Regions from separate parts of the Homo sapiens genome. Here all the other regions are linked to region 1. The links are contacts of gene promoters, found by promoter capture Hi-C in blood cells and fetal thymus (Javierre and others, 2016). All regions are on one chromosome and are shown on one strand. Each heading gives the region's core, a stretch centred on a gene start or on the middle of the fragment in contact. The rest is flanking DNA. Distances are from core to core; before and after follow the strand shown.

Evidence for each region. Contacts are between HindIII fragments. The CHiCAGO score rates a contact against its expected background, and 5 or more counts as called.
Region 2: a contact is called between a fragment that was not itself captured here and the fragment with the promoter of RGS16 in region 1, in 2 of 17 cell types (naive CD8 T cells and activated CD4 T cells). The highest score is 6.5, in naive CD8 T cells.
Region 3: a fragment that was not itself captured here is called in contact with the fragment with the promoter of RGS16 in region 1 in 2 of 17 cell types (M1 macrophages and M2 macrophages); the score reaches 6.3 in M1 macrophages.
Region 4: a contact is called between a fragment that was not itself captured here and the fragment with the promoter of RGS16 in region 1, in 4 of 17 cell types (M0 macrophages, M1 macrophages, erythroblasts and 1 more). The highest score is 8.4, in M0 macrophages.

The regions. Positions count from the first base shown.
Region 1 is chr1:182,602,715-182,606,346 of GRCh38, forward strand. RGS16 (regulator of G protein signaling 16) reads right to left here and starts at 1,675. Exons shown (of 5, transcript NM_002928.4): 1 at 1,502-1,675; 2 at 515-625. The coding sequence starts at 1,545. RefSeq lists enhancers at 1,240-1,299, 1,390-1,439, 1,910-1,989. The HindIII fragment of the contact is 22,726 bases long and covers 1-3,632 here.
Region 2 is chr1:182,883,583-182,887,234 of GRCh38, forward strand. It overlaps DHX9 (DExH-box helicase 9), which reads left to right. Exons shown (of 28, transcript NM_001357.5): 26 at 1-53; 27 at 1,031-1,231; 28 at 3,501-3,652. Among named protein-coding and RNA genes, the nearest start is that of DHX9-AS1, 46 kb to the left of the region's middle. The HindIII fragment of the contact is 4,260 bases long and covers 273-3,652 here.
Region 3 is chr1:182,119,618-182,122,994 of GRCh38, forward strand. No RefSeq gene overlaps it. Among named protein-coding and RNA genes, the nearest start is that of ZNF648, 60 kb to the left of the region's middle. RefSeq lists an enhancer at 1,277-1,571 and a silencer at 1,277-1,571. The HindIII fragment of the contact is 3,862 bases long and covers 1-3,203 here.
Region 4 is chr1:182,098,478-182,102,070 of GRCh38, forward strand. No RefSeq gene overlaps it. Among named protein-coding and RNA genes, the nearest start is that of ZNF648, 39 kb to the left of the region's middle. RefSeq lists an enhancer at 2,469-3,239 and a silencer at 2,937-3,231. The HindIII fragment of the contact is 2,517 bases long and covers 710-3,226 here.

The DNA of each region.
Region 1 (3,632 bases), core at 425-2,924:
TCAGTCAATATCTCTAAGCCTGTCTCGTCTCTGTCCAAAAATTATTTCAATTCCCCTGACTCTCAAAGATTTGTTTTGTACACCTTCCCAAGGAAATAAGGTCCTCATAAATAGAGATTACATCTACACATAACTCCAGAGTTTGGTACAGTTGATAGCCAATATGAAAGAGTTTCTAGGCAAGGTGCATACTAGAAAACTTCAAGTGGTCTTGGATTCTGTCCTAGCCCTGGATGCACGTGCAATGAATCCCGAGGTGGGAGAGTCTGGGAACTAGGCATTCATGCCCTGTGTGCCCTCATCCGTGGATGGACTTGGAGCCCTGGAGCCACCTACCCACTCACCCATGAGCCAAGTAGTCATAACAGACCAGCAACAAGTCCCACTAAAATCTCTAGGGAGGTGTTGCCAAGGTCCACTTAGCGTGTCCTGGCTTCTCCCTGTATTTCCCTCCTCATGACTCCCTTCCCACTCCCTTCCCTCTCGGAGCCCTGAGCTGGTCAGCAACACTTACTTCTCTTTGCTGTGTTTACTGCCCCACTCGAACTTGCCAGTACTCCCAGTATCGCAGCCCAGCTCTGATTTGTGAAGAAAGATCCCCAGACGTGTCTTGAACTCTTTGGCTCTGAAAAACAAATCAGGAACATGAAAGCATTCTCTCATTTGCTCAGCCAGTGTGGAGAGGTTTATGGGTCCCAGAAGAGCTCTGGGTGGTGCCACCCAAACTTTAGCCTCAAGAGTTCCTGGAAACTCTTGGCTGTCCCCAGGCCAAGAGTGCTTCTCTTATCAGCATCATCAACCCCAAAGCAACAAAAGCAATGTTTGAGCTATGCTGTGGTAGGTCTTACACTTTCTGGGTAATACACACGCTGCATATATGGGCTTTTCCCTAAAGTCACACTGATCTCTCTTCGTGCCTGTTGATTCAGAAAAGAACTCAGCATTCTTTTCAGAAGTATTTCTGAACTGTGTGGGAAACTGATTCCTGCCTTCATCTTTACTTTTTCCTTCCCAGCCAGTAAGGATTGGAAGCTGTTGAGTAGCTCTCTGGAATATGGACACACCCTCAACAGTGGGAGCCCCCACCCCCACACACCCCACCAAAAAAAAAAAAATCTCCCTGTCTTCCAGGGGCAGAGGAGGCAATGCCCCTAGCTCTGGTCTGAGGAATGAAAAACAAATGCTTAAGAAATGGGCAGGCTCAGTGCTGCCTGGAAATGTCAACGTGGCCTTCCCGCAGCCGGGTCTTCAGCAGGTCACCTGAGCACGACTGCAGTTTGTCAGAGGATGGGGATGGCAGCAAGCCGCGGGCCCTTGCTTCCCTTCCCCTTGCTTTCTCCCTGCTCCTGGAATCTGAGCACGTGGCATCAAGTGCGCTTCTACCTCTCTACTCAAGCCTCTAGCGCCCCATCCCCGCGCCCACCCAGGTCCCCAGGCCTGCCGCTCCACTCCCTAAGAGTTGGTGGGACTTCCCCCAAGCAGTTGGACAACCTCCCCTTACCTCTCCAGGCAGGTGGTGGGGAAGGCGGCCAGGGTGCGGCACATGGCTGCGGGCGCAGGGCAGCACGTAGTAGGCAGGATGGTGGCAGGCTCCAGGAGGCTCCGCGTGCGCCAGGAAGCAAAGGCGCGGTAGCAGGTGCTAGTCAACTGCGGTTGGGTTTAGCAGCCTGCAAGCGCCCAGACTGAGCGGCCGCTGCTTTAAATCCCCTCGGAGGAGCGGGGCGGGGCTGGGCACTGCTGACCAATCGGAGGGTGGGGCTGGGCGCTGAGAAGGCGGAGGCGGGGCCCGCAGCCAGACTGGGCCGGGTGCAACTTTCGCGGCAGCTGGAGCACGCGGAGCTGCACCCTCCGCCCAGAGGACGCCGCGTGTGGAAGGAAAAGCGGCAAGAGAATTGGCACGGGGATGAGACGTGCACACCCAGTTTCCTAGGGAAAAGTACCTGCCGACCTCTAGTAACAGCAGGAAAGTCACGCAGCGGTGTCGTGTTGAGAGAGTTTGCACGGGGGTGGTGGGTCTGGGAGGCACACAGGGCTTTCTTTGATCGCAGGCAAGTCTGAGCCTGCTGGGTCCTGAGGACAGGCGCACAGGGTGCAAACCTGGGCAAAACAGCATCTGATTATACTGATAAGTACCCTTTACGAGGCTCTTACCATGATGGACACGGGGCTAAGTAAGCTCTTCATCATCATCTCCATTTTATAGATGAAGAAATCGAGAATCAGAAAGCTAAATAAACTTGTCCAAGATCACAGTTGGAGATGACAGAAAAGTGGAATAGGGATGAGTAGTTTATTGAACACCTACTATGTGCTAGGCACATAAGTAAGACTTGCTCAAAGTCTTAGTTATTAAATAACTTGCTCAAAGATGTGCAGCTAGTAAGTGTTGGCTCCAAAATTCAAATGTGAATTTGCCATTCTTTTTCCATTGCACACACACACACACACACACACACACACACCACACACACACACAAAGGTTAGTACCCGGTCACGGCTATACCTGTGGACGATCCTGGGTTTAAGCAGTTAATACCTTATTGTCTCCATCTCTGACATAAAGGTAATAAATGCCCTTCCTCTCACCTCATCTTCCCATAAAGGCATTGGGATTGCTATTAAGAGGCTGTATGTGAGGTTAAAAGTACAGGGTCTAGAGTTAGATTTTCAGGTTTCAAGTCATGGCTCTGCCAGGTGACCTGCTGAAGACCCAGCTGCAGGAAGGCCACGTTCACTGTTAACTGGCTACTGATGGGAGACGAGGCAAACTGCTTAACCTTTCTATGCCTCCATTTCCTTGTCTCTACGAAGAGAACAACTTATTTCATAAGGTGGTTGTGAGAACTAAATAAATTAATTCTTAGTTTGAGTTCCTAGGAACTAGACTCGGGTAGACACTTGCATGCAGGAGGTTTACTGGGGAGAGTTATCAGAATTAAGAGGGAGTAAAGAAAGCAGGTCTGGGCAGAGGGAGGAGTTGAAGGCCATGCCATTTCAACAGAGACCCCAGCTGGTTCCAAGGAATGCCCGGAAGCTCAGCTGGCCCTTTGGAACTGTCCACTGAAGCAAGAGGACAAGGCCCTGGTAACCCCATAAAGACCATTCATTGCATACAGCTGCCCAAGAAGACAGCCTAATCTTAAGGCAGTGCCCTTTGTCAAGAGCAATTCCTGGAGAGAGACTAACACCCTGGGAAATGATGATCACAGTCCCCAAGACGGGATCTGGGTGGCACCGCACAGCATCCGTGACAACATATAAGGTGCTTATATGACAGTGCTCAACATGTAGTCAGCAGTCAATAAATGTTATAATAGCTTTCAGTTTTACTTAATAGGGATACTGGGATTGCTAGCAATAAGGAAAATTAGTGAGTCTTTTGTGCCTCTTGGAATACAGTATAGGCAGTGTATACTGAGGCACTCTTAGTTAAGTACACCTGAGGCACTCTTAGTTAAGTGTACTGGAACAGGAAATAGCTGGAAATTGGATCCTATCTCCCAATTCCTGAGCTAGTACTTTCTCCTGCTCTGATAAAGAAAGCAAAATAAACGGTGCCAGGAGCAGTGGCTCACGCCTGTAATCCCAGAACTTTGGGAGGCTGAGGCGGGCAGATCACCTGAGGTCAGGAG
Region 2 (3,652 bases), core at 1,153-3,652, 280 kb after region 1:
TTTGCCTCCAAGAAAGTCCAATCTGATGGGCAGATTGTGCTTGTAGATGACTGGTATGGATTTTCAGATGTGAACTCCAAACTGAATTCTTAGAATTACAATATGATGGAATTCAGCTGCTAATCTAACTTAATTATATACTAATTATATCTAACTTAATTATATACTATATACTTAATCTTAAATTGATACCAGTAGAAGCAAATGCATTAGGAATTTGAGCCATGTCTACCACTAGGCACACCACCACTATGGAATCAGAATCTAAGTGAAGCTTGAGTACCCTTTCACATACTCTGTATATTGATTCAAAACTAGTGGTAAGCACTGGGCAAAAATGGAATAGAGCTTAATGGACAGCCAGTAGGCTCAGCCATCATATTCTTGAAAACCTAGAAAATGCCAGTATTCTGGGTCTCTTAAATTCATTATTTTAAAGTCTGGATGATCTGGCTGGGTGCGGCACATCACTTGGGCTCAGGAAGTTCAAGATCAGCCTGGACAACATGGTGAAACCTGTCTCTACGAAAAATCCAAAAAAATTAGCCCCGTGTGGTAGCGCACACCTGTAGTCCCAGCTATTCTGGAGGCTGAGGCAGGAGAATCACTTGAACCTGGGAGTTGGAGGTTGCAATGAGCTATCACGCCACTGCACTCCAGCGAGGGCAACAGAGCAAGACTCTGTCTCAAAAAAAAAGAAAGTCTGAATGATCCATATTGCTGGACTTTGTTTTTTGTTTATTATATATTGCATATATTTTTATTATATTTTATTTGGCTTGATAGACTTTTTGGCTTAAGACTCCTGCTCATAGCTAGCAGTGAATTTTAAGAAGCTAGTGCTGATTATAACTACTCTTCATATCTGTGTTTGCCTAAGTTTGGGGCCATTATAAGTAGTTTTTTTTTTTAATATTAATGCTTAAGAAGTTAAATTTATTCTATAATGTGCCATGTGTGAAGTTGAGAGATAATGGTCTTTTTCTACATATACTCCCTCTCTTATTTTTAATGTATTTCGCCACTTTAGGATTAAACTGCAAATATCTCATGAAGCTGCTGCCTGTATCACTGGTCTCCGGGCAGCCATGGAGGCTTTGGTTGTTGAAGTAACCAAACAACCTGCTATCATCAGCCAGTTGGACCCCGTAAATGAACGTATGCTGAACATGATCCGTCAGATCTCTAGACCCTCAGCTGCTGGTATCAACCTTATGATTGGCAGTACACGGTGAGTACCAATATACTTCTTACTGAACCAAGTAGAGGGGAGAGATCTTATGTAGGCCTAGAATTCCTGAAGTTAGTGATAGAAGCCCTATTACTTAAGTAAAATTCTAGATATAGATAGAGCTATATAGATAGAGAGTTTGATGTTCTGAGTTCTAACATACTCAGAACAAAGAATGTCATTTACTTTTTTGTTAGTAGTTGGTCTGCTGCATCAGTGCATGTTGGTAGTGTTAGAAGGAACTTACAAATGCACATACATAGTTCAGAGTGGGTCACATGACAGGGAAGTGACACAGCCCAGATAGCCCTTTTTCCATGGTACTGTTTTGGCATCTCTAAAGAAAAATATTGATGAGATGTTAAATTGTTTCTGTATCAAATGTATATGTGTTTTTGTTTATCTTAAACAACTAGAGCATGGATATCTTAAAGAAATGAGAAATTTATCTTAATTCTTAAAATTTTTATTTGCTTCAGGTTTTAAAATTTTTTCTTTGCCCACTAATTTTTATTTACATATACTTGATACTTACCAAAAAGGCAAGAAGAGTGATACAATGTATAGCCATATAGTCTTTATTTAGGTTCACTAATTTTCAGCATTTTGTATTTGCTTAATATTTGTGATGAAGTAGCAGGCATTACCACATTTTACATCAATACACTTCATGTCTTTTAAGAACATGGCCACAATACCACAATCACACCCCAAAACCTTAAGTGTTTTAGTAATACTATAATATACTAAGGTACTAAAATTCTTCCAGTTATCCAAAAATGACCTCTAATTCCTCATCAAAAATGATGTATTGGCATTTGATCTATCTGTAAGATGGGTAGATTGTTATCCTCATCCTCTTTAATATAAACAAGGAAACCAGGCACAGATAAGACCCAAGGTCATACAGCTAATAACTGATAGAACCAGGTTCAAACCCAGGCAACATGGCTCCTGAAACAGTGCTCTTACTATGCTATTCTGTGGCCCTCCTAGGTGGTTAAATGCATAGAATAATTCAATAACCGTCATAGGCAGATAACAAATGAAGTATTCATGGGTGTTTAGGAGAAGAGAGATTATTTTTGGTAGGAGGGCTGGTAAGCAAGGAGCCGCTGTGTATATAATCTGTTTCTATGAAGGATAACAGTCCGGAAACTAGAAAGAAAGGGATATATGCAAGAGAGTTTAGGATGTATGAATATGTGGTGGCTTAAATTACAGTAGTAGAATTGCAATGGGGAGATGTGACTGGATTAGACAGATTTGTGGTAGAATCAATAGGAATTGGTGATGGACTAAAATGGAATAGTGCAATGAAAGAAGGAAGACAGATTACAGTCATTTATTTTTATTTTTATTTTTTTTTAAATTTATTTATTTATTTATTTATTTATTTTGAGAGTCAGTTTTGCCCTGTTGTCCAGGCTGGAGTGCAGTGGTGCCATCTTGGCTCACTGCAACCTCTGCCTTCTGGGTTCAAGTGATCCTCCTGCCTCAACCCCCCGAGCAGCTGGGATTACAGGCACACACTGCCACGCCCAGCTAATTTTTGTATTTTTAGTAGAAACAGGGTTTTGCCATGTTGCCCAGGCTAGTCTCTAACTCCTGACGTCAGGTGATCCACCCACCTCAGCCTCCCAAAGTGCTGGGATTACAAACCTGAACCACTGCACCCAGCCACACAGCCATATTTCTGACTTAGCTGCTGAATTGGTGGTGTTATTCTCGAAGAAAAGCTGCACAGGAATAATAAGCAGATTGGGGATATGTTTAATTGAAGTTGTTGACAGTCCATCTTGATTTCTGCAATTTTTTATTCGCTTTATTTTCCTTATTTGCCACATGAAACAGATTTAGGCATTATTACCAAGGACATTTTTCAAAATCATATTTCAGAATTATTGCAGGAAAACATCTGGTGATAAAGACCAAATAGTTTATTGGCAGCTCCAGGAACCCTCTCCTAATGCTTGCCTTCTTGGAACACTTATGTTATTGAACTGAGTAAGAGGACTGTCTTAAAGTTCTAATGACATACTGCCAAAATTCAAAACCTTTGAGATTGAACCAGAACTTCAGAAAAACAGATGGATACAATTGATGACTGTTTTAGAATAGCAGATCAATTTTATTTCAATTTCTATTTGTGCATTTGGCTTCATTCCCTTTATTAAATTTTCAAATATAACTAAATGTGTACATTTGGTAAGTCGTTGGGAAATAATAAGAATGCTTTGCTAAAGTGATGGTTTTGTGCTTTTCCTAGGTATGGAGATGGTCCACGTCCTCCCAAGATGGCCCGATACGACAATGGAAGCGGATATAGAAGGGGAGGTTCTAGTTACAGTGGTGGAGGCTATGGCGGTGGCTATAGCAGTGGAGGCTATGGTAGCGGAGGCTATGGTGGCAGCGCCAACT
Region 3 (3,377 bases), core at 23-2,522, 480 kb before region 1:
TGTGGTGGCATGCGCCTGTAATCCCAGCTACTCGGTGGGCTGAGGCAGAAGAATCGCTTCAACCTGGGAGGAGGAGGTTGCAGTGAGCGGAGATCGTGCCACTGCACTGCAGCCTGGGTGACTGAACAAGACTCTGTCAAAAAAAAAAAAAAAAAAAAGATGAGGGTCCAGAGATTCCAGTCTAATGCCTCACTCCTGGGTCGATCTCACCAAATAGCAAAGGGTTTCCTGTTCACCCTTTCCATACTGGAACAAGTGAGAGGTGGAGGATGGTGAATCATTTTCCAAAGCCAGAATTGGCCCTCTTGGAATCTTTGTGCATTTCTGATGGAATGTAGGAAAATTAAGGGAAATCGGGAGGCTCCAGGGATTTAGCATGGTTCGGGCCACAGCACAAGGTCCCATAGGCTCTGAAAGACTAAGCTATAGCTCCAATACAGGCGTTATCTGACTCCAAAGTTCAGGCCTCTTCTACTTGAGATCTGAGTCCCTCACACTGGAGCATGGTCAGTTAAGGCTGCAAAAGGGAGAGAGTAATGGAGGTCAGCGTTGAATAGATACGAATATAAACTCTTGGGCACTGTTAACGCCAAACAGCCTGACATCTTACTTCAGATATAACTGTAACAGTGTCCAAAATCCAATATTAGCATTTAAAACTTGTAGCACACTTATTGTGGAGTCATTGAGTGATGCAGAAAGAAAAAAAAATAAAGCCCTGAGAATTCAGCTCATTTACCCAAGTCACTGACGCATTTAAGGAACAGCTCTTATAAGTCCATTTAGGTGGTTTAGGGCTGCGGAAGATGCCCAGAATCCCTAAATAGAAATAAGTACTGGTCATCAGAGCAGTGCGGTTAGGCCCTTTCTGGCCAGGAGGTCATCTTGGGCTCCAGAGCCACTTGTTCAGCTCTGATATCTAAACAGCCAAAGTGAATTATTCACTTAGGAGGGTGAAAAACACTCAACTCCCTGGGATTGTCAAATGGAGTTTTCCATCATAAAATATCTTAGTCATTTGGAATCTAACCAAAGTAAACGCCTGGTCCTGACCCATCCATACCTCTGTGCTGGATGGGAAAGGAGAGAGGGAAATCCCAAAACAAATGGAAAAGCCACTTTGCCAGCCACAGAGCATGCATGGCCCTCCCTGGGCAGGTCTACTCCAGGTGAGACACGGTTTGAGCCAGGCTACAGGTGAGGAGCGGGTCACGGGAGGGCTCTAAATGGCATCTCTGTTTGATTCCAGGCCTGAGTGGGGCTGCGGCTTACATAACAGTTTGGCAGGGAGATGCAGCCAGGCGGAAGCACGCGGGTTTCCAGCAGCGTATAATCATCTTTGATTTCTCTGTTTGCTCAGCAGCTTTCATGTGGTGGGGGAGGCAGTAGTGCAGGAGGAGGGGCAGAATTCCGATACACTGCGGCCTTCTGTTTTCTTCTGCAAAACAAACAGCCCCAAACAGATCCCCATGGCCAGGGAATTAGCCACTGCCACAGAAGTCCCGTGGCAGTCTAGGGGAGGAGCTGCCCTGGAGCCTGGGTCAGGCCTAAGAAGGTCAGAGATTGACTTAAAGTTACGGTCTCGCTAGGTGCACAGGAGCCCAAAGGGCTACCGAGGAGCAGGGGTCTTGGATGCTGGCAGCACCTAACATGGTTTACCCTCTTGGCACTGAGGGCTGTGGTGTCCCCTTCTGATTACAGAGGTTACTGAATCCCATACTACGTCCATCCAGAAAGGCAGCTTGTCAGGTCTCTTTCCTACTAATCACTGCCTCCATACCAGGCTAATTCTGCTGGAATCCTGAGCATCTGGGAGCAACCAATTTAGAAAATAACATTTCCTTTGACTAAAATACAAATTTCTAGCTCCTTTTGATCCTAATCGGTTTGGAATTGAGTAGCAGCTGTTCCCCTTTAGAATGGGCTCATACTCACCACTTGCTGCGGTCTGCACTATTCCCTATTGTCTTACACCAGGAGATCTTTTCATTTAGTTACCCTGCTTGCCTGGCCCTTGCAGACATTTGTAAGATGAATTCCCTGCCCTATCCTAAGTATAATGATTTGATAGAATATAATTTGCTTACCTCTCTGATTCTCCCACTAGACTGTAAACTCTTTTGACAGAAGCACAAATTGGTCATTCATTTATTCATTCAACAATTATCTACGGCATGCCCACTTTGGACAGAGTGCTAAGTGCTAGTCATTGTGTTAGGAATATAGAATTTATCATGGGGGCCTTTAGTGCCTGGCACTTAGCACATGCCGTATACATGTGATTAGATTAAATGAATACATAAATAATTCTTCCAGCATGCAAACTGTTGATCTTGGCAGTGAGGTTCTGTTACCAATGTGTCCACCCTCTCAACCTTATGAATAGGTTTATTGACAGGATACATCTTGTTTTGCAAGTGATTTGCATGAACTTGTATAATGTTGTGCTCAGATATTTCCTTACATTCAGATATTTTCTAACCCCCAGCTTGCATCTCTGGCCTCATGTTTTGCTACTCCCTGCCCTATCAGCCATGAGGAACTGCTTGTATGACCTCCCTGAACTCACTCTGCTCCTGGGGCCTCCACGCCCTTGCTCACCCTCTCCCCTTAGTCTGGAAAGCCTTCATTTTGTCCTTTGCCTCATTACCACCCCTTCCCTGGCCAGCTCCCAGCCACCTCATAACCCTCACTCAGACATCTTCTTCCCAGGAGCCTCCTCTGATTCCTCCAGGCTGAGTTAGGAGCTTCTACTCTTTGCTCTCATTTGCGGTGTGGCTCTTTTACAAGTCTGTCTCCACCACCATGCTGCAAGCCCTGGAGGCAGGAACTGGACATTTTTTGTTATCTCTGTGTTTTCAAGGCCAATCATAGAATAGGAACTTTGTATATAGAAAGAACAATTCAGTCATGCTTGTGAATGAAACCCTAGCCAGGCCTGCACCTGTTTTAGCACATCAGTGCACACACACCCTCAATTTTGACACTCCCCTGCAGAGTCCAGATAACCAACCAAGGATCCAAATGGATTCTTGTTTTGGACAGAGTCTAGCTCTCTGTTGACATATCATGTTCTTTCCTCTATTATAGTAACTACCCATGCTCTGTGTGTTTTCTCAAGTTTTCTGTGTTTGAATACATGAAATTCTTTTGCTCTTTGTATGAAAACAATGCCATCTGTTCACTAGATAGAAATTCTGGAAAGCTTCAGAAAAGCAACCAGGTTTTACTGCAGAACAGTCTAAGATATACCTCAGTGGGATTCTGGGTGGGAGGCAGATAAGATTAGGACAAGAACAACTTGGAGTTCTTAGTTTTGTGTGGTTCCCTGCCCCCCTTTTTTTGATTTTAGATTTTAGAACTTTTCTCTCAAATTC
Region 4 (3,593 bases), core at 718-3,217, 500 kb before region 1:
TGTGATGAGGGTTTTTGCTGCTTTGCTAATGAAGAAATCAGTAAGGAATGAAGCTTCCAAAGGTCACACACACACACACACACACACAAACACACACACACATTTTCTTCATCCACTCACCAGTTGGTATATACTTAGGTTGATTCCATATCTTTGCAAGTGTGAATTGTGCTGTTATAAACATACATGTGCAGGTGTCTTTTTGGTATAATGACTTCTCTTCCTTTAGGTAGATACCCAGCAGCGGGATTGCCGGATTGAATGGCAGATCTACTTTTAGTTCTTTGAGAAATCTCTGTACTGTTTCCTATAGAGGTTGTAGTAATTTACATTGCCATCAATGGTGTATAAGCGTTCCCTTTTCACCACATCCGTACTGACATCTATTGCTTTTGTGACTTTTTAGTAATAGTTATTCTGATTGGGATAAGGTGGTATTTCATCATGGTTTAATTTGCATTTCCCTGATGATTAGGAATATCAAGCATTTTTTCATGTTATTTGGCCATTTGTATATCTTCTTTTGAAAAATGTTTGTTCATGTCATTTGCCCACTTTTCAATGGGATTTTTTTTTCCTTTGCTGATTTGTTTGAGTTCCTTGTGGATTCTGGATATTAGTCCTTTGTCAGATGTAGAGTTTGCCAATATTCTCTCCCATCCTATAGGTTATCTATTTACTCTGTTGATTATTTATTTTGGTGTGCAAAAGCTTTTTAGTTTAATTATGTTCCATTTATTTATTTTTGTGTTTATTTTGTTGCATTTGCTTTTGGGGTCTTAGTCATAAATTCTTTGCATAGGCCAACGTCCAGAGAGGTTTTCCTAGATATCCTTCTAGAATTTTTATGGTTTCAGGTCTTAAATTTAATTTAAGTCTTTTAATTCAGCTTGAGTTAATTTTTATATATGGTTAGAGATAGGGATCCAGTTTCCTTCTTCTGTATATGGTAATCCAGTTTTCCCAGCACCATTTATTGAACAGTGTGTGTTTTTGTCTGCCTTGTTGATCTTTGTCAAATATCAGTTGGTTGTAAGTATTTGGCTTTATTTCTAGGTTCTCTATTCCATTCCACTGGTCTATGTGTCTACTTTTATCGCAGTACCATGCTGTTTTGGTTACTATATCTTTGTAATATAATTTGAAGTTGGGTTATGTGATGCCTTCAGATTGGTTCTTTTTATCTAGGATTGCTTTGGCAATTCCAGCTCTTTTTTGATTCCATATACATTTTAGGATTGCTTTTTCTAATTATGTGAAAAATGATATTGGTAGTTTGATAGGAATTACATTAAATTTGTAGATTGCTTTGGGCAGTATGGTCATTTTCATAATATTGATTGTTTCAATTCATGGGCATGAGATGTTTTTCCATTTGTTTGTGTCATTTATGATTTCCTTCCTTCCTTTCTTTTCTTTCCTTTCTTTTACTTTCTTTTTTTTTTTTTTTTGGACATAGTTTCACTCTGTCACCCAGGCTAGAATGCAGTGATGCGATCTCGGCTGACTGCAAGCTCTGCCTCTAGGGTTCAAGCGATTCTTGTGCCTCAGCCTCCCAAGTAGCTGGGATTATAGGCATGCACCACCACACCTGGCTAATTTTTGTATTATTAGTAGAGACAGAGTTTTGCCATGTTGGCCAGGCTGGTCTTGAACTCCTGACTTCAAGTGATTCGACTGCCTTGGCCTCCCAAAGTGCTGGGATTACAGGCATGAGCCACCATGCCTGGCCATTTATGATTTCTTTCATCAGTATTTGGTAGTTATCCTTGTAGAGGTCTTTCACCTCCTTGGTTAAGTATGTTCCTAAGGTGTTTTTGTTTTTTTTGGTAACTATTGTAAGTGGGATTGAGTTCTTAATTTTATTCTCAACGTGGTCTTTAATGGTGTATATGAGTGCCACTGATTTGCATACTTTGATTTTGTAACCTGAGACTTTGCTGAATTCATCTATCAAATTGAGGAGTCTTTTGAAAGAGTCTTCAGAGTTTTCTAGGTATAAGACCATATCATTGGCAAACAGAGATAGTTTGACTTCCTTTTTCCCAATTCAGATGCTACCCCACGCCCTGCCTCGGCCTTTTTTTCTCTTGCCTGATTGCTCTGGCTAGGACTTCCTACCTTGTCCATCTTTCCTATGTACAGGTGAGGTCCTTGTGGAGACAGGCCTTCTACAAGAGCTTTCTTCTCATGTTTTTCCACACCTTGCTTCCCTTCACCAGACTTCTGCAACAGAAATGGAGGAACTGGAGGTTATCTTGGCCAGTAAATTCTCTGGCCCAGTTGGAGTCTACCAATATGCCCTGTTGCCCTTCTGTTTATAGACTCCATGTGGTGAGGGACACAGCCTCTCTGGTTTTCCGGTCCAACTCCTGCAGCTGGCACAGCACAGGCATACTGTAGGTCTTCAATAACTATATGCTGAATTAATTAATACGTAATCTAGTCTTCAGAGAGTCCCACTTCTACCAAACCAGCAGAATGTCTCTTGCCTAATTCCACAGGTCTAAAAACATGGGGTGCAGATGTCCTCTCCTGAATCCCTTCCCCTGTCTTCTACCTCCTTCCCAGTCCATAAGGAATTCTAGTCTAATCCCCCTTCCAGAGCAAATCTCTGCTAAAGGTGGAATTTCCTTTGAGGTCACAAGGAAAAATTTCAATATCAGCTGAAAATAAGCCCCCAATGTCCTTTGTGCTTTCAATTTTTGGCCTTTTGGACTTGTTGATCATTTTTAGGCACAGAAATCTATTATTTCATCTCTTTCCAAGTTGGTAATTTTCAGGTGAATTGGTTGTATGTTTCAGGGAATGGGGGAAACCTGGGCAGAGATCATTTTAAAGTAGTCTTTGGCACTTCCTTGATTTTCAAATGTCTTTGATTTCTCAGCTGATAGAATTGAAGTCTTCTCCCCAAGTATCATTAGGCTTTACCCCAGCTCCCAACATGTCAAGTGGCTGTGGGAAGGAGCTGAGGCATGAGGGCAGGCGCAGACATCCTGCCTAGTGGACACAGGCTGGAGCATGCCTGTCCCAGGGATCCCTGCAGCCCACAGCCCGCTGTGCCTGTCACCCAACCTCACCTAACCACATTCTTTCTGCATCGCAGTCGCCTGCAAGACAATACCTTCACTGCTGGCCTCTTGCTTCTCTGACCCACAAAGAATGTCTGGCTCGATAAACATTCACCCAGTGATTATAGGATTAACTGCAACCTGTAGCAAAGGGAAGCTTTTAAACAAAGGTTTTGCTTTGTTGCTTTGGAAGGGAAAATTAAAAATATAAAGCCAACAAGCATATTATGTGTTAATGGGTACTTTAGGTTTTGAGTTCCAGAATTCAGTTATCAGTGAGAATTTCCTCTTGCAAAGAGGTAATCGAGTTCAGGCTGTTGTGCTCCTATCTCTCCTTCTCTCCACAGGCTCCACTTTTAATTGCAGTTTCCATGACAGTGAGATTGTTGCAAGAAAGCGAGAAAGATTGTGCGTGTACTAGGAAAATGTTTATGAAAATTCACATGTTTCTTTTTTTCTTTTTTCTTTGCTAGAAAGAAAGAAGGAAAGGTGGAATGCTAGAAAGAAAGAAGAGAAGTGATT